6 separate regions of the Homo sapiens genome follow, and regions 2, 3, 4, 5 and 6 are each linked to region 1. Evidence: promoter capture Hi-C in 16 types of primary human blood cells and fetal thymus (Javierre and others, 2016). All regions are on one chromosome and are shown on one strand. The core of a region is centred on a gene start or on the middle of the fragment in contact, and the rest is flanking DNA. Distances in the headings are between cores, read along the strand shown.

Evidence for each region. Contacts are between HindIII fragments. The CHiCAGO score rates a contact against its expected background, and 5 or more counts as called.
Region 2: a fragment that was not itself captured here is called in contact with the fragment with the promoter of SMCO4 in region 1 in 1 of 17 cell types (monocytes); the score reaches 5.2 in monocytes.
Region 3: a contact is called between a fragment that was not itself captured here and the fragment with the promoter of SMCO4 in region 1, in 1 of 17 cell types (monocytes). The highest score is 5.8, in monocytes.
Region 4: a fragment that was not itself captured here is called in contact with the fragment with the promoter of SMCO4 in region 1 in 3 of 17 cell types (monocytes, erythroblasts and endothelial precursors); the score reaches 7.6 in monocytes.
Region 5: a fragment that was not itself captured here is called in contact with the fragment with the promoter of SMCO4 in region 1 in 9 of 17 cell types (endothelial precursors, megakaryocytes, erythroblasts and 6 more); the score reaches 10.3 in endothelial precursors.
Region 6: a contact is called between a fragment that was not itself captured here and the fragment with the promoter of SMCO4 in region 1, in 2 of 17 cell types (monocytes and megakaryocytes). The highest score is 6.9, in monocytes.

The regions. Positions count from the first base shown.
Region 1 is chr11:93,541,663-93,544,832 of GRCh38, reverse strand. It overlaps SMCO4 (single-pass membrane protein with coiled-coil domains 4), which reads left to right and starts at 1,442. Exons shown (of 3, transcript NM_020179.3): 1 at 1,442-1,557. RefSeq lists silencers at 1,242-1,371, 1,532-1,581, 1,712-1,951. The HindIII fragment of the contact is 4,665 bases long and covers 1-3,170 here.
Region 2 is chr11:93,274,033-93,276,960 of GRCh38, reverse strand. No RefSeq gene overlaps it. Among named protein-coding and RNA genes, the nearest start is that of DEUP1, 55 kb to the left of the region's middle. The HindIII fragment of the contact is 387 bases long and covers 1,230-1,616 here.
Region 3 is chr11:93,165,372-93,168,168 of GRCh38, reverse strand. SLC36A4 (solute carrier family 36 member 4) reads left to right here. Exons shown (of 11, transcript NM_152313.4): 7 at 1-225; 8 at 2,153-2,251. Among named protein-coding and RNA genes, the nearest start is that of SLC36A4, 31 kb to the left of the region's middle. The HindIII fragment of the contact is 3,601 bases long and covers 1-2,797 here.
Region 4 is chr11:93,211,304-93,214,374 of GRCh38, reverse strand. No RefSeq gene overlaps it. Among named protein-coding and RNA genes, the nearest start is that of SLC36A4, 15 kb to the right of the region's middle. The HindIII fragment of the contact is 761 bases long and covers 948-1,708 here.
Region 5 is chr11:93,250,543-93,253,560 of GRCh38, reverse strand. No RefSeq gene overlaps it. Among named protein-coding and RNA genes, the nearest start is that of SLC36A4, 54 kb to the right of the region's middle. The HindIII fragment of the contact is 4,790 bases long and covers 1-3,018 here.
Region 6 is chr11:93,144,635-93,147,856 of GRCh38, reverse strand. It overlaps SLC36A4 (solute carrier family 36 member 4), which reads left to right. Exons shown (of 11, transcript NM_152313.4): 11 at 1-3,222. Among named protein-coding and RNA genes, the nearest start is that of SLC36A4, 52 kb to the left of the region's middle. The HindIII fragment of the contact is 607 bases long and covers 1,297-1,903 here.

The DNA.
Region 1 (3,170 bases), core at 193-2,692:
TTATTTCCTTCACAGACCGGATCATGAATGATCTCCCAATGTGACAAGGTCTTATTCTCCACAGTTTACCGTTGAGGGGACTGAGGTGCAGAAAGCCCAAGGTGTATGCAGCCCAATCCCCTCTGATCCCACTCTACTGCATTGCTGCCTTTTGTACGCAGCAGGAAGGACACTTCCTGTAAAAATGAAAAAAAAAGCCTTAAGTTGTTTGAGAGAGGGTCAGGAAGAAAACAGGAAGAGCCAGTAGACTGCAGGTGCTTTCAAAGGGCTCCCTGTCTTTGACATCCCTAAAATAAAAACTTGTTAATTAAGAGATTGGCCACAGAAATCCAGGTGGAAAACCTGCAGAAGAGTGGGTTCCACAATTCTTCAAAACAGAACAAAAAAACCCCAAGACTTGTTATATTTTTACCGGTGGAGGGGAAGAGGTTACAGGAGTGGCCTTGCTCCCCGGGCTGGCCTTGCTGAGCAGGTGACAATACCACACATATAAAGGTTTTAAGGTGAAAAGGTAGTCAATATTTTACATTTCGAAGATAGTTTTTAAAATCACCTACTGCATCAGTAGTAATACAACAATAACTACCATTTACATACCACCGCACACATCGGGGCTGCGTAAAGAACTTTATAGTGCACCATCTCAATTAATTCTCACAACTCTGTGAAGTAGGTTTTATTATTCTTAATTTATAGACGTGTTCACTGTGGGCCAGGGAGATGAGCTTTCCCGCGATTGCCCAGCTTTTAAGAGGTAGATCTCAAACCTAAACGTGTTTGACCAAAAGCCCTGAATAACATTTAGCCGTGGGCCTCTTGCGGATTTGGCGCTGGTCCGAGGTGGGGAATTGTGAATCTCATTTATTTATGCTGAGCTGCGCACACATATGCACGTGTAAGTTACAAAAAACAAATCCAGGTCAGGATCTCTGTCCGCTTGAGGTTTCAAAGCCTACTTGGGTAGACAGCGGTAAAAGTCTCAACTCATTCATCTACTCGTTTGCTCTCTTCACAAGTATTTATTGCGCACTTCAGTATTCCAGACAGGGCGCTAACCTTGCCCTGGAGGAGAGAATGGTGAACACAACAGACATGGCGTTTGCCTCCAACTATCCCCTTTCCGATTCTGCTATCTCACGGGCGAGGCGTTCAAAGAAGCAGGAAATATATCAACAAGGGGGTGACTTAAGCACCCGCTGCGCGGGAGCCGGAGGAAGCGCGCTGAGCCTGCAGAGGTGGTCAGGGCGAACTTCCTGGAGGCAGCGGCAGCAGCAGGCCGGGCGAGAACCCAGGTCGCTCGGAAGCGACAGTCTGAGCCGGGAACGGGGAAGAGGGGGCGGGAGCCGAGGCCCGGGCGGGGGCAGCCAGCGAGTTAGGGTTAGGACGGGAGGATTCGGCTTCCCGGCGGCAGAGGGCGCCTGGCGCTGCGGTCTGGCGCGCCAGAGTCGCCCGCGCGGGCGCCGAGAGGAGAGGCGAGGCGGGGAGCGCAAGCGGCGGCGGCCACTGCCACGTATTCCCGGCAGTGGTGGCGGCGGCGGCGGCGGCGCCCGCGGGCAGGTGGGCTGGGAGCGGCGCGGCGGCGGCGGCGGCGGGGCGGGCGAGCCGGCGGGCGGGCGCGGGGCACGGGGCACCGGGCACCGGGCGGGGGTGCGGCGCCGGGACAGTACGGTTCCCGCCACGCCGGCTCCGCCTCCGCGCAGTGCTGCTGACCCAGGCCTGGGCGCCCGGCGGGTCCCGAGCGCAACTCGTGCGGGCGGGGTTGGGGGCCCGAGGGACTCGAGCTCGCCTGCCCGTCGCGGCTCGAGACGCTGCATCCCGGTTGCTGCGGGGCGGGGGCTGGGAAAAGTTGGGGCGGACCGCGAGCCCGCGGGGCCGGGCGGGAAGTGCGGGTGCGGGGCGGACTCAGGGGCCGGGGGACGCAGTGCAAAGGGCTTGGGCCGGGGCGGCCGGGAGGGCCCCGTATGGGAAGGTGGGAAACGCGGGTCCTTTGAGGACGCCGAGAAAGGGGTGCGCTCAGGGTCTCTGGGAGTGGACAAGAGTCCGGCGGCGGACCTTGCGGGTGAGAAGGGTCGGCGCCTGGGGGTCGGGGAGTAGAGGTGAGGCGGGGGCGGGATAGAGCCTTCCTCCTCCCCCGTTCTTTCGGGACCGACCCTGAGACCCGGGGCAGGCTCCGAGCTGGGTACGCCTCTGGCATCTGAAGACCCAGTGGGGAGTTCCTGTACGGGGTGGGTGGAGGAGGGAGCTGAGCGTTGCTTCCTCTGCTGCTGGGGCCGACTACCGCCCCTCCCCAGCGGCCAGATTCACCTCAGACTGCAGTGCTTTTGCCCTGAGGAAGTTGAGGAGGGACAGCTGAGCGGATGAGATGTTTGGGGTGTTCCAAGATGAGTGGGATTAGGCTGCATGATATCATAACTATCTCCGGGAGCTGTCAGAAAACACTCCCATGTCCTCATACACCCACCCATCCACTCATCCAGTCAGTACTGCCAAGCTCCAGGCTCCCTTGCTCTTTAAGTGACACCTCTAGATCCCCAGAGCCCAACAGCGCATCTGCTCACAGCCTCGAGGGTGGCAAGGGTGGAAGACATGGCCTGCTAGTGTCTGCGTAGGTTGGTGCTTTCAGAAACAAGTGGTTCTGGAGGTGCTGGATGCTTTATTAGAACAACCTGTGTGGAGCCCGTTGACAATGCAGATGACTCATGTTGGCTTTTTTTTTTTCCCCTTTACAAATAAACTTTGTATTCAAGACACCAGTATGCCTGGTCATTTGCAGCAGTGATACGGCAAGAGACCCATAGTGGGCTTCTTGAGCCCTTATTCTCGTCCTAGATGTGTTAGCAAGAAGTTTGACCTTGGATGAGTCACTTGCTCTCTCTGGACTTCTGTTTTCTTATCTGTCACATGGGGTATAAAGAGAGAGCTCGACAGTGTGATGTAGACAGGAGTAGGTTTCTGAGGGACACAGTGAAATCTTTTTTCTTGTAAGGCTGGATCAGCCACAGAAAATAAGCCTTAGCCTGTTCTTATAAAGAAATTAGCTTAGATTTAAAATAAAATATGAGAAGAAATATTGCAAAAAGCAAAACAACAAAAAACTAATAGTAGTTGGTACTCGATTTACAACATGAATACTGTTCTTATGCTTGCAGTTAGTGTACTTGGTTGTCCAG
Region 2 (2,928 bases), core at 174-2,673, 270 kb after region 1:
TGGTGGAGAGGGGCACACGGGGCTATGAAAGCACAGCTTTTTCAAAGGGTTCCATGAGAATTTCTGTTCCAGTCACATCCTGAAAATTGCAAAAAATAAAAAATGCAGGTATTTTTATTTACCACATGAATAAATATTTATCTGTCTTCAACAAGACAGGTTACAACTGCTATTTGAGAATCTATCATTTGCCTAAGAATCTGGGGGAAATAAAAAGAAATAAAAATTCATGGTTTTCTATTCTTAAGCTCTTGTAGATGTGGTATCAAGATATATGTCTAAGAAATGATTAGGAAACAATGGTAGATAAATCCTGGACAGTTCCTCAGGATACTATTTTACTGGCTCTTTCCTTTTACTGTCAAATAAGACAGTTTATAATAATGTATTTAATGATTTAAAGCCCAAATCTTATCACTCAGGCCTTACAATGCTATATGCTTCTCTCTTGTTGAATGCTTGTTCTAGTATCTAAGCAGACTCATACCTCCCTTTGCAGAATTGTTGCTATCTGTAAGCCTGTCTACAGCCCATCTTCATACAAAAATGGGATCTTCCTGAACAGGTAAAACACGAAGCACAAGTCATGTTCATCATCACTTTAGGAGAAAAGACGATTCCTGGTACCCCAAGTTACTAGGATTTGTGTCATGTGACCCTATTACCTGGCTGAAATAGATTGAACCAGAAATTGAGGCCAAAGGTAACTATCAACAGCTGAACATAGTAATAGTAGCTAAATATTTAATGAGCACTTACTGTGAGTCAAACACTGCTGAGATCTTCACTTGATGATTGCTTTGATTTAATCTTCACAACAGTCCTAGGAGATTGGTTACAATATTACTAAATCCATCTTAGTAATAACACACATGTAGCCACAGAGATACCCTAACAGGATTCAAACATGTGCAATAATCATTCAGTTTTAAATGCACGTGTCTCACCCAGACCATAGCATTCCAGAGGCTTAGTCATGGGTCCAGTTCATAGACTGGCAAATGGAGTTGCAGGGGCTTGAACCCTGGGTCTTTCTGTCTGCCTGATTCTCCCACCCTCCTTCTTCACCCATAGTCCATGTGGTGCCCTCCTCCTACTCTATGGCTGACTCTGCTCCACATTAAATGATTTCTCAATCAAATCTTCTCCTTGTAGAGGGTATCTTGAATGTGCCTCTTATGGAGGATGGAAGAGGCAGAAATAGAAAAGAAGTAAAGAGAGAAAAAGCTTAGGAAAGTGAGTGTTAGCAGGAACCAGGAAGGGTGAGAGGACAACCATGTTACTAGGGCTAAGGCGAGGTCACAGAGATGCTGGGGCACACTGAGTGTCCCTGATAGTCAACATTCCAGCTCTCATTAGCTTGATGGTATGACATTTCCCCACAGAAGTCACCTGAGCACATCTCTGGCCCTCACTCTTTGAGCAAAACTAACACAGAAGGGATCTTTTGTTTGGGGAAGGATCATGTTAGTAAATTAATTGCCATAGCAGAAAGTTAACTCTGACAACATTTCTAGAACCAACAACACATGGAGTGCTCTTAAGGACAAATATTATCAGCACTTCAAGAGAATTTAGGAGCTAATCTGATTGTGAGTGAGTACCTGCTAAAAGCTTACTTGAAGCAGTATCTGAGAGTGACTCTGAGAAACTTGTTAGTTTTCATCTTCTTGAAATCCTCTCCCAGCATTAAATTAGGTCATCGTTGAGTAAAGATTTAGTATTACAGTTTTTGCTCTAATGGAGAGTCATTTAAAGAACATCATTTAAAATAATAAATCCCTTTCATTTCACAGGGAGGAAAAAATCTATTTTTCCAAGTAAACAACATATGATTCCTTTCAATATAAAGATGATTTTAATAACAGAATAGCTTTTCTGTATTTTCCTAGCTGCCAGGAATCTCATAGCTACAGTATAAAGAGCAAAGGCAGCAACTAATGGATCTCAGATGCCTGGGACCATTTATATGACTGCTGTTGTCAAGATGTTTGTTTTTATTTTTTAAAAAAATGACCTGTTTTATATATTTTACTATTATAAGTTATCCCCAGACATTTTCAGAAGTGTTAGGTTGAACCATCTGAAGTTGTCATTAGTCATGTTTAACCTGCAAAATGAGCAATTCCAGTTGCTTCAATTGATAAATCAGAAATAAATACAAGATAGAGATATGTACATGGGAAAAAGTCTCAAAGGGCATATGGCAAAATTTTAACTGGGAAAGTCTGTGATGGGACTATATATGCTTTTTATTTTCTTCTCTCTGCTCTTTGTATTTTCTGAATTTTCAATTCATTCTACTCATCAATGTGGTTGCTTCTTTCTCTTTGTCTCTGTAACAGATTTTGTCTCATTATCCTGTATTGCGCCATTTAAAAAAGCATAAAGTGTGTGTGTGTGTGTGTGTGTGTGTGTGTGTGTTTCTTCTGTGAATTTCTTGAGAACAAATATTATGTCTTATTTATTTTTATACCCACTGTACCTGGCACACAGGAGGATTCAATAAATGTTTGCCTTATTGAATAATAAATGTATCCAAGTCTGGCTTAACCAAATCAAAACACAATTCATATACAACTTTTTCTGCTTTGGCTTTAGTAACCGATTTTTCTAAAAATAATTGAATAAAGTACCATAATGACTTCTTGTACTTTACATCTTCAATTCCATTAATATACTAACCTCTGGATGACATACATTCTTATATTCTATTCAGGTGACATTTATGCTTCTTTTCAGTTTATTCTGACCCAGCAGTGGCTTTTAGCATTTCATGACTATAGCCCTAAGATCATACTTGGATGTTTTCCAGGTTTCTTAAATTGAATGGAAGTTATATTCAAAGGATGGCCTTGACTCTTGTCCTCTCTGGCTTGGAATTGTTTCTTTTCATGAACTAGTATCTACCCCAATTCTGTATAGCAA
Region 3 (2,797 bases), core at 255-2,754, 380 kb after region 1:
CATGAAGGATTCCTGGAGAGTAAAGTGTTTATTTCAAATAGTACCAATTCATCAAACCCTTGTGAGAGAAGAAGTGTTGACCTAAGGATATATATGCTTTGCTTTCTTCCATTTATAATTCTTTTGGTCTTCATTCGTGAACTAAAGAATCTATTTGTACTTTCATTCCTTGCCAACGTTTCCATGGCTGTCAGTCTTGTGATAATTTACCAGTATGTTGTCAGGGTAAGTATAAAAAGTTTTTAACTAAGTTCTTATCTTTCTTATGTAAGTAAAATTTTGTTTACTGTGGAGGTAAAAGTAATGATATGCAAAGACCCCTACTTCATATGTGGCACACAGTGTGCAATCAGTAAATGTTGGTTTCTTTTAGGGGGATGCTGCTGAGTTAGAAAAGTATATGACATAGAGATTAAACAGGCTTTGTGGTCAGATCTTGAATCTTGGTAAATAACGCCTCTGGGCTTTGTGACAGTGCTTCAGAAGATAGTAATGCCTACCCTATTAGAGTTATGAGACTTAGGATTGTGTTCTTAGTACAGTGCCAAACATGAAACCAGGTACTCATTAATATATATATATGCAATTCCATAATTTCCTTTCACTTCTGAACTTTTATTTGCTGCCACTGCTTCAGTCCACTGCCACTACACTAGTCTGTAATCCCTTTACCTGAAGTATATGCAATAACATCAACTGATTTCATTGTCCATAGTCTGGGGATTCTTAACCCAGTTTCCATAAAATAATCTATTGATGGGATTCAGGGATTCTTCAAATCCCTTAAAATAGTTTGCAAGATTTAGTATTTCTGTATGTATGTATGTGTTTTGCTGTTGAGCAGTTGTATAGCTTTCATCTTGCAAAGGTGTCAAAGACACAAAAAAGGTTGAGAATCCCTGTTCTAGTCACTCCTGATCTAATTAATCTTATATATTATTTCCAAGGTAATTGTTGTAAAATCTTCATTAGCAATTTATTAAAAATTCTTATTATGGATCTGTGTTTCATTTCCCTCCTCTTTGATTTTCAAAAGTTGTAGTTTCTCTTATAGCACTGAGTGGGAGGAAACAGACAGGAAGTTCATATAGGCTTTCCGGAGTTCATGACCCCTTAGCTAAACATGTAAGAGTCAGTTAAGCAGAAAAGGAGGTTTCCAAAATAGAAGGAACAGCGTGAGCTGCTGTTGGGAGAAGTGAAATAGCATCCTGCTTGCCTTAAATAATAGTTTAGCATTGAATGAGCCAAACATTGTAATACCCTTTCATTCTAAACCCAGTATATGGTTTTAGACATGTATCACCAGTATATCACACAGTTCTATCTATGCTTCAGATATTCTAGATCTCTCTATTCCCCAAATTATCCTAGAGCTTTCACACTTCAGTTGCTTTGTTCATTCTTTTTACTTGGCCTTGAATTCTGCTTCCAATCAGGCAAAGCAGAGAATGTAAGATGGTGAGAAGAGTAGGGACCAGACTTGGGGTATCTGGAAGAAGTGGCCATTTAGAGCCAATGTGTACTTTGTCCGGATGGTGAGATTTGGAATAAGCCTGTGAGTCAGGACCAAGCAATCAAAGCCAGAGTCAGGACATATATATTCAAATAATAAGGGTAATGACAACCATCAAATCAAATAGTAAGCACTGAAGCAAGAAGGAAACCTGTTTTGGGCAGCAGCAGAGCTATAAGGTAGAAAGCCAGTGTCAGGAACCAGGTATCTTAGAGAACTGAAAGAGCAATAAAAATAGAGTGGAGAATGAATTTCTGCTAGGCACCAGCAGCAGTGGTTGATAACTTGACTATATGGCTCTCAGCTTAGGCCTTGAGTGTGCTTATGTATTTCCTGTTGTGGCAGGAGCCATACCTAGTGTTCACAGCCTGGGACTTGCAGGTGGAAGCAGGTAATCAGGAGCATTTTGCTCAGATGGAATGTATGGGCATGAGGGAAACAATTGCTTTTGGCAGTGAAATCCTAACAGCTTGGCTACATTTAACAGAGGATGCTTTAAGTGTTTGTTGAAACAATTATTCAATTTTATAACACATTTGCTGTTGTGAAGCTCAAAATTATATGATTTTTCTTACATTTTTTAATTATTTAGAATAAGTAAAGATGTAACTGGTCTTCTTTTTTTCTTCCTTTCTTTAGAACATGCCAGATCCCCACAACCTTCCAATAGTGGCTGGTTGGAAGAAATACCCACTCTTTTTTGGTACTGCTGTATTTGCTTTTGAAGGCATAGGAGTGGTAAGAATTTAGTCTTTATTATTATTTTTTAAAATCTTAATTCAGCACAATGATTTATATAGCCTACCTGTATTTAAAATTGCATATTTTTCTTTTTTATTTCAATTTTCTTTACATGATTTCCAATTTGGTGTGATAGATTAGAATTATAGTTTAGTCCTTCCATTAACAAAGAACTTAATGTTAGACATACCACTTAGGCTCTCTACTTCTCTTTTTATTTATCTATAAAATGAAGAAATTAGCCAGATCATTTTTAACATTTTATTATGGAAAATTTCAAACCTATACAAAATTTAGAGAGTAGTATAATGAACTATGTAAACATCACCTGGCTTCAAAAATTATTAACTCAAGGCCAGTTTAAAAAAAATCTATATCCCACATACTCAGGCACATCTGAAGCATATTTTATAGATGAGATTATCTGAAGGTAATCAGAATAGTTGCAGAATCACTGCTATATAAAAAGTTGGATGTAAATTCTCCCTATAGTTTTATGAATATAATGTTTGTTTTGAGAAACAGTGTTATAAAGCTAATACC
Region 4 (3,071 bases), core at 79-2,578, 330 kb after region 1:
AATCATTGATCTAATTTATTATACAATGAATGCAGTCTATTGAGAAAGTCAGATCAAAATGCTTAGCTGTTTTATGAGGGAAAAATCAGATGAGGAACAATTGTGTGTTATCACTAAAAAACAAAATTAACAGGAACAGTATCCTATAAATGAAGCATAATGTGATTGGCTACCAGCCTGGTCTTAAAGAAAATGGGTTGGTGACATTTTCTTAAATGGTACCTTTTTCCAAGGACCTCTTATCTCAAAATCTTCTGAGGGCATGGGCTAGAATGCAGTCCTCCAACTGGAACTTCTCCTTTTTCCTGAATGGAAGCTTTCTAACTTCCATGCCACTTATTTTTATTACCAAAAAGCACATATATGTTGGTGTTTATTTTCTCTGATCAGTTCTATGGGGAATCTATATCTCTTAAGCAGATTTCCCAAATGAGTATGGAACTATTCTTTCCCAATGTGGTTGGTATTGTCAACAAGGTTATTAAATTGTGAGCAAGCTCCTTGAATAATCATGAAAAGTGTCCCAGGTAGCAGGAATTCCAGGATTCCTCATGCATAACATGTGTCTCAGGTGACCTACTTACCACAAGTAAGTCTTTCACACACTCCTTTTGAACTGTGATGAAAGTAAACTATACAAAAACTGACAGGTACAGCCTGTCAAATTAAATCCCAAACTAGACCTTGATGTTAAAATCCTGAAATAGAGAGGACTTATCAAGTTAAATTTACATGTGAGGATCATGAGTCCTTAGCATCAAGAGAAAACCCAGACTTTTGTACTCGGCATGATAATAGTTTTATTTGAAGACAACACAAGTGAAATAATTTCCTTGCAAGTTAATGTCTAACCAATACATAATGCTTAGAATGGAAAGAAGCAAATTTCGTAAAGCACCCTTTTTCTTTTGAGCCTTCGGGAGTACACTTGAGATTTATTATAAGCTTTAAAGCCTTTTACCAGTCATGTTAAATACCAAAGGGAATAACTTACATGTGGGAAAATAAAAGTGTCCTTTCCAGCACTCACCATAAGTCACTTTTTTTTTTTTTTTTTTTGTGAGACGGAGTCTCGCTCTGTCCCTCAGGCTGGAGTGCAGTGGCATGATTTCAGCTCACTGCAACCTCTGCCTCCCAGGTTCAAGCGATTCTCCTGCCTCAGCCTCCTGAGTAGCTGGGACTACAGGCGCATGCCACTATGGCTAATTTTTTGTGTTTTTGGTAGAGACAGGGTTTCACCGTGTTAGCCAGGATGGTCTCAATCTCCTGACTTCGTGATCCACCCACCTCGGCCTCCCAAAGTGCTGAGATTATAGGCGTAAGCCATTGTGCCCGGCCAAGTCACTTTTTTATTGTCCTTCAAAGAGTAGTATTTTCAGAAGACAATGCTTAATATGTTGGTTGTGGCATTTATGTTGGAATTAACCGCCATCAGTGAAGCTCAGTTACCTGATTTCAGGCTGATCTTCTGAATCTTTCATTAGCTATATGAAAATGGATAGACAGAAATGTACAATGTTGTAATGACTAAATCACACCACTGACCAATGGTCAGAACTGTGAGTGGCTCTCACAACCTGTCAGCTTAGCTGCTTAGGATCTCAAGAAGCTATGAGGCAGAGTGGATAATAGTATATGTCCTAAAGTTGAAATTAGATTTGGTTTTGATCTGTGAAATTTTGGGTAAGTCTCTGAGTCTGTCTAAGCTTGTCTTTTCTTTCTTTCCATTTCTAATTTTACTGAGGCATAATTGATGAAAACTATATATATTTACAGTGTCCAATATGATCTTTTGTTATATGCATACATTGTGAAAATGATGACCAATATTAAGCTAATGAACATATCCCTCACCTTGCATAGTTATCTTTATTGCTGAATGTGTGGAGAGAACATTTAAGATCTACTCTCAGCAAATTTCAAGTATAAACTCGAGAATTATTACCTGCAGTCATCATGCTGCATAACTGAGACTTTGTACTCTTTCACCAATATCTCCCTATTTCCTCCACCCCCAGCTCTTAGCAACTACCGTTCTACTCTCTGCATCTATGAGTTCAACTTCTTAAGATCCCAATGTAAGTAAGATGATGCAGCATTTTTCTTCTATGCCTGGCTTATTTCACTTAGCAAAGTGGCCTCTAGGTTCATTCATATTGTTAGAAATGACGGGATTTCATTCTTTTTTAAGGCTGAATAAAATACCATTGTGTGTACATATACATATTATATACCACGTTTTCTTTATCCATTTACCCATCAATGGACACATCTTATTATTGTGAATAATGCTGGAAGGAACATGACAGTACAGCTATTTCTTCTATATACTGATTTAATTTCTTTTGGATATATGCCCAACAGTGGGGCTGCGGCATCATGTGCTAGTTCTGTTTTTAAGTTTAATTTTTAATATCTTAGTTTCACTGATCTTTTCTGTTGTTCTTTTCAGCTTCTATTTCATTTATTTTTGCTCTGATCTTTGCTGTTTCCTTCTTTCTACTGAATTTAGGCTTTGTTCTTTTTCTATTTCCTTGAGGTATAAAGTTAGGTTGTTTATTTGAGATCTTTTTCTTAATCTAGGCATTTATTGTTATAAACCTCACTCTTAGAAATGCTTCTGGTGTGTCCAATAAATTTTGGTATGCTGTGTTTCCATTTTTGTTTGTCTCAAGATATCTTAACATTTCCATTTAGATTTTTTTGACCCTTTGGTTGTTCAGGAGCATGCTGTTTAATTTCTACAAATTTATGAATTTTCCAATTTTCCTCCTGTTACTGATTTCTAGTTTCATACCACTGTGGTCAGAAGAGATGCTTGATATGATTTCAAATTCTTGTATGTGTTAAGACTTGGTTTGTAGCCTGACATACGATCTATCCTGGAGAGTATCTCACCTGCACTTGAGAAAAATGTGTATTCTGCTGCTGTTGGGAGAAATGTTTTGTATATCTGTTAGGCCCATTTGGTCTAAGTTATAGTTCAAGTCCAGTATTTCCTTATATTTCTATTTGGTTACCTGTCCATTGTAAAATGTGGGGTATTGAAGTCCCATACTATTATTGCATTG
Region 5 (3,018 bases), core at 266-2,765, 290 kb after region 1:
AGCCTAAATAACAAACAAGAAGAGGCTCTCTAAAAGAAAATATGTTTGTTTGGGAATATAGTATTGCAATGGGAATACGTATGTCATAGTGAACAATGTGTATATTCAGGGAGGTAAAGGAAGACAAAGGTTTTTAAAGGGAAAAAATGAGGAAGATTACATAACTGTTTTGAAATAATTATTCTTAGCTACAAAGATTAATAGCAAGACTGACATCAGTCCAAGGTTGAATAAGCCATTGCCAGGCAGATGTCCTTGCAGAAGTATTTTTGATCTAAGATTGCAATGGCTTTTGTGCAATGCTGTAGTTTTTGTGGAGTCTTTTTCATTGTTAGGCATACAATCATGAGAATCTTCTCTTCATGGCCTTCTCTGGCTATATGTGTCAGAGTTTTCTTAACATTAGTGACTACACTTTGATTCTGATAACTTTCACAATATATACTAGAGTTTGTAAAGGAGTGTTTACCAAAGATGAAATTGCTGGCTAATGGGATTTTTTTAGTTAGGATCAGAGTTCTGCACATTTAAGATACTCAAAAATACATAATCTTTAGCCAAGTCAGGTTTAAAAGTAGTAAACTAACATAATAATTAAAAAATATAAAGTAGAACAGCCATACTAATTTACATTCCCACAAACAGTGTGTGAGCATTCTCCTTTCTCCACATCCTTGCCAGCATTTTCTGTCTTTTTGGTAATAGCTATTTTAACTGTATCTCACTATGGTTTTGATTTGCATTTCCCTGATGATTAGGCTGAATGGATAAAAAATGCTATATATACACAATAAAATATTATTAAGTCATAAAATGAATGAAATCCTATCATTTGCAGCAACATGGATGAAACTGGAAGACATTATGTTAAGTTAAATAAGTGAAGCACAGAAAGACAAATATTCCATGTTCTCACTCATATGTGGGAGTGGTCTTGGGGAGGTGGAGAGTAGAGTGGTGGTTACTAGAGTCTGGGAAGGGTAGGAAAAATAGGGAATTAAGAGATGTTGGTTAATGGATACAAAAATACAGTTAGATAGGAGGAAGAAGTACCCGTGTTCAATGGCACACACAGTAGGGAGACTATAGTTAAAAACAATTAATTGTATAATTCAAAATAGCTAGAAGAGAATCTTTGGAACATTCTAAACACAAAGAAATGATCATTATTTGAGGTGATGAATAACCCAGTTACCCTGATTTGGTCATTACACATTGTTCACATGTATCAAAATATCACACATACCCTATAAATATGTGCAACCATTATATATCAATAAAAAGTGAAATTTAAGACTTACAGTTTTTTCTCCAAGAGCCTGTAATTCCTTTTAGAGAAAGAAGTCAAAGTTTATCTTTGAAATCTTATCACTCCCTTAGCCACTGAAGCACAAAGGTCCTCTGGCATGCTGTGATGATCATTTGCTGTGTAAGAGCAGTCCTCCTGCCTCCTGTTGGTGAGGGTGAATTACCTCCAGGCTGGCAACTCCTTATCTTGCCTACTGGCCTTAGCAAAGGAGCCTGAAGAGAGTAGGTGACATCCATAGCTTGAACTTCATTGGCACTCTTGTTCGTTCCATGGTGGAAACATTTTACATCTGGGAATCAGAACTTGTAGTCATGTAGAGCCTAGAGTTGTGGAAATGGAAGAATAAATTATCCATGTGGGTCACGAGGAGTGATGATAAGTGGACTACTTTTGTCGCCCTTCCTTGTTTTTTGGACCCATGCGGTCTGCATATTGGAGATATAACACTGTATAATAGTCACTGGTTTAGGGTATATACTGGGCCCTAAGGATGGAGCCCTATACGCATACAGCATCATCTCTAATCTAGTGCCTAATTGTGCCTTCAAAGAGCAATTCTGTTGCTGTATCAGGCCAACATCTTCTGGGTGCGGCAATATGAAATAGGACCAATAGGTCCCATGATATATATCCCTTTATTATACAATGGGTCCCTTGGTCAATTGCAACATTATTTAGGAGCCCATGTCAACAGGTCAGTTCACTCCATGCCCTCAGATAGTGGTGCTTGCTGAAGCCAAGCAGGCAGGAAGGGTAACCCCATTCCAAGAATATATGTCAACCAGTGCTACTTGGTTGAGTTTGTAGTAATCTGCTTTCATTCTCCAGGATCTGTTTGTTTTTTATAGGGACCAGACTAGTGAATTAAATGAATGAGGATATGATGGAGAGCTCTGTATCCTGTAGGTCTTTAAGGGTAGCACTAATCTCTGCCATTCCCCTCATCAACTGATATTGTTTTGATTTTACAATCTTAGGTGGGGAGAAAGGAAGTTTCAAAGGCTCCTATTTGGCTTTCCCCACCACAATAGCTGTTACCTCACAGAGAAAAGAACAAATGTGAAGGTTCAAGCAATTACCAAGGATACTAATTTCAATTCTATATTCAGGGACTGGGGAAATGACCACTGGGTGGGTCCATGGAGCCAGTGAACACACAATGAACGAGGACCTGGAGCATGACTCCATTTATACTTTATCCCCTTATGACCCCATCTAATGAAGGAGCCATGGTGTTATAGTTGCAACAGAGGCTTCAGTGGATCATATGGGTATCAGTGTCAACATAGATTCAGTGTTCAACAATCTTTGAAACATCTGGATATTGTCCTTTCAGTATATGACTAAATGGCTATAGGTCACTTTGAGGAAGGGCTGAGAGACTGATTACCTTCATATACTTGCCATAGTGTTGCAAGTTTTTTCCTTATGGGGACTTGGTCTCTCTTTCATTCAGTAGGTTCCTTGACTGAAAATTGGCTGTGAACTAGAATGGCCTTTCAGAGATGATATGAATAAAAGCAAGACACCAGGCCTTTGTACCCCCATAGTGACTAGATACAGGCTACTTCTGAGTGCGGTGGGGGCATACATTTGAGCAAGGCAGCTACCTTCAACTGAGTGCAATTTCTGGAGAAGGCTGGCAAGCTGTCAGCTGGCGACACTACCCAAAGCTGGGGGGTTCCTTGATCTTGAAGGAGCATCTGGGT
Region 6 (3,222 bases), core at 351-2,850, 400 kb after region 1:
AGTGCAACTCCCTTGTTTTTCGTCAGAGGAAAAGGAGGCCTAGAAAGGTTAAGTAACTTGGTCGAGACCACTCAGCCTTGAGATCAAGAAAACCTAATCTTCTGACTCCCAGGCCAGGATGTTTTATTTCTCACATCATGTCCAAGAAAAAGAATAAATTATGTTCAGCTTAATTTTAGTGTTGAATCTATTTGATTATATTTTAATACTTTGAAAATGAATGTGTGATTTTTAATAGTATATGTGACCTGAGCAGAAAATCAGGGAACTCCAAGAAGCCTACACTGTGGCCATATAAACCTCAGCAAGAGAAAGAAGCTATGTTCTTTTAAAACAGAATAGAGACCGCTTGCTGGTGAAACTCCTGGCTAGTAAGATGTGTGTCTAGCTATACTATTTGTGGCTTGAGCTTTTTTAATTATTACCTTCCTTTCCTGAGTTTTGTAGGCACCACATTCCTGAATGGCAGAAAATAGACACCTCAGAAAACGGAGGATTTGTGGACTCTTTCCAGCCCTGTGGCTTTTCTTATCACAGCCTTTTATTTATTATGAGCAGAATAAAAGAATCAGCTAGGTGTGGTGGTCTGTGCTTATAATCCCAGCTACTCTGGAGGATAAGTTGGGAGGATCACTTGAGAGGCCAGGAGCTTGAGACCAGCCTGGGCAGCATAGTGAGACCTCGACTCTATAAAACATAAAAATTTAAAAAAAAATTAGCCTGATGTGGCGTGTACCTGTAGTCCCAGCTACTGAGGAGGCTGAAGCAGGAGGATCCCTCGAGCACAAAAGTTTCAGGCTGTGGTAAGCTATGACTGTGCCACTGCACACCAGCCTGAGTTACAGAGGGAGATCCCAACTCTTAAAAACTAAAACAACAATAAATATATACAAGAATCATAACATAAAGGGATTCATGCTTAGAAAAAATCCATAAACTCCCTTCTAAATATTGAGACACTCCAGGCTTCTTTCAGACAAATAACTTCTAATTATTCCATATTTTTCAAGTTATTAACCAAGATAAAGAATCTCTCAGTTAGTGGGGAAAATGAAAATTATTAAGAATAGAATTGTCTTCTGACTTTAAAAACAATTTAGACTTTAAAACATGAACTGTTTACTCAGGCTGGTGATACTCTAGTTTGTTAGTATACCATACTTGAAGATATCATCAAGATCACTATAGTTGTATATATTCTCTATTTTTATATGTAAATGTTAACTTAGTTCAAGTATTTTTTGCTTGTATCGTTAACTGATCATCAAATACAATCCTAAAGATATATCAGAAGCTTTATTTTGGTACAAAGTCATAAGAATCAAAACTTTTTTAACCATTCACATTAGGTATCAACAGTAATTGTTTGAGATACTTTTATATCAATTCTGTTACACTGAGCCTTTAGTCATACTAAGAGAATGCAGAAGAAGTTATAGGAAAACGAATCTTCACTGAAACTAGTATTATATAATCTTGAATTAGATGTTTAAAAAACTTTATAGCTTGATATAAAATGAGTTGAAAATTATTATTTAATAGGAAGCAGCATTAGATTTTTGTCACCTGTTTTCAGATAATATTTCTAGTCTATGTATGTTATTTAATTTTTACACTTTGGCCCATTGTTTATTTTCCTTAAGGAATTCATCAAATGCAATGAAATTTGAATAAAATTGATCATAGCAATAAATAATTTTTAAATTCAGCACAAACTCATCTTGAGTATATTATCAATCAGGCTTCCTTTAGCAATAAGAATGGTGAATCAACATCCAGTACTAAATTCAATAAATGATGAATACTTTAAATACAAGAAAAAGTTGAATTGCAGAAAAGAAGAGGGGCTAAAAAGGAAGAAAGTTTTAATTCTCAACAAGAAACACTATTTAGATGGAAAGCTTAAATGTATTCTTATTAAGGGTATTTGATGATGCATTTTATTTGCAAAAATAACCAGTGGGTAATTTTTTCTCTGAAAATTTAGCTTTAATAAGTCGTAAAATTTCCTAAAGATTTTGGAGACGATATTTCGATTATACCAGCTCTTGCTTTTATTTTGGGAGCCTGGAGAAATGAGAGTGATTGCACCTGTCAAATTTTGTATCTCATCACTTTTGGATCATCACACTGTGACTAAAATGACTTCAGCATTTTGTTGGCCACCACAGTGAAGAACTATTCCCTGAAAGTTAATCAGTTGCCTGAGAGACTTTTCTGCTACTGAGGGGAAAGAAAGGAAAGCTTTATTTACCTCTAATGAGCTCCGTTCCAAGTCAGTTAATCACTGTTCCCTTACACCCAAGAGTTTCATCAGTATCAGAGTCAACTTGTCAAAACACTGGTTCTCAGACGTTTTTTTCAGAGGGACTTCTTTTCCCCACATGGCCAGATTTCTTTACAATTAAGAAAATAAGAGCTACAGCGTATTCTTGGTTAAAAACCAGTTTAGATGATGTTACCAAATGAAAACAAGTCTGTATTAGCAAATGCCACATTATATTTAGTCGTATTCTCACTAAATTCTCCGTTATTAAAATGATTTCTGCATCTTGCCTGGAAAATGCACTTACATATTTACAAGCGTTGTATGTCAATGTGCATGTTTTGAATTTCCTAACAGTGTCTAATCTTAGTAGTTTCATAGTAGTTATGTAAAATCTCTTTAACTGCAAAATACTATAAAATATTACTTGAAATATTAAAGTATTAGTGCCATTTCTAGCTGTGGCAAGGCACAAGTCTTACTATAGCTTACTTATGTCTTCTCATAGATTTCAGTACAGCATCTGAGTAGTGGATCTGTTTACTGACAGTATACACAAACTAGGTCTTGACCTCACTTCTTTCTTCATTTAAAAGGAGAAGATTTGAAATAGAGCTAGTGTAAATAATAAATAAAATTATTTAAATAGCATCAGTGGCTCAATACCATCTGTTGAGGAATAAAATAATTTGGTTAACATACAGAACATCGATAATATACAATAATGACTTTTTAAAAAATGAGTCTGATCTTTTTGGCTCACCTAGCTTCCCTTAATAAGAAAATTTGAGAAACTTGGATCTGAAAAGTGTAGTTGTACTTCCTAACATTAAATTCCTGGCTGTAATAGTTAATACTTTGGCAGCATTATGGTTAGTCTTGTTTATGCCATTGGCACTTACTAGGCTAAACTTTCTGAAACTGATTGGTTTTGACCTATGAGATAAGGAAACATG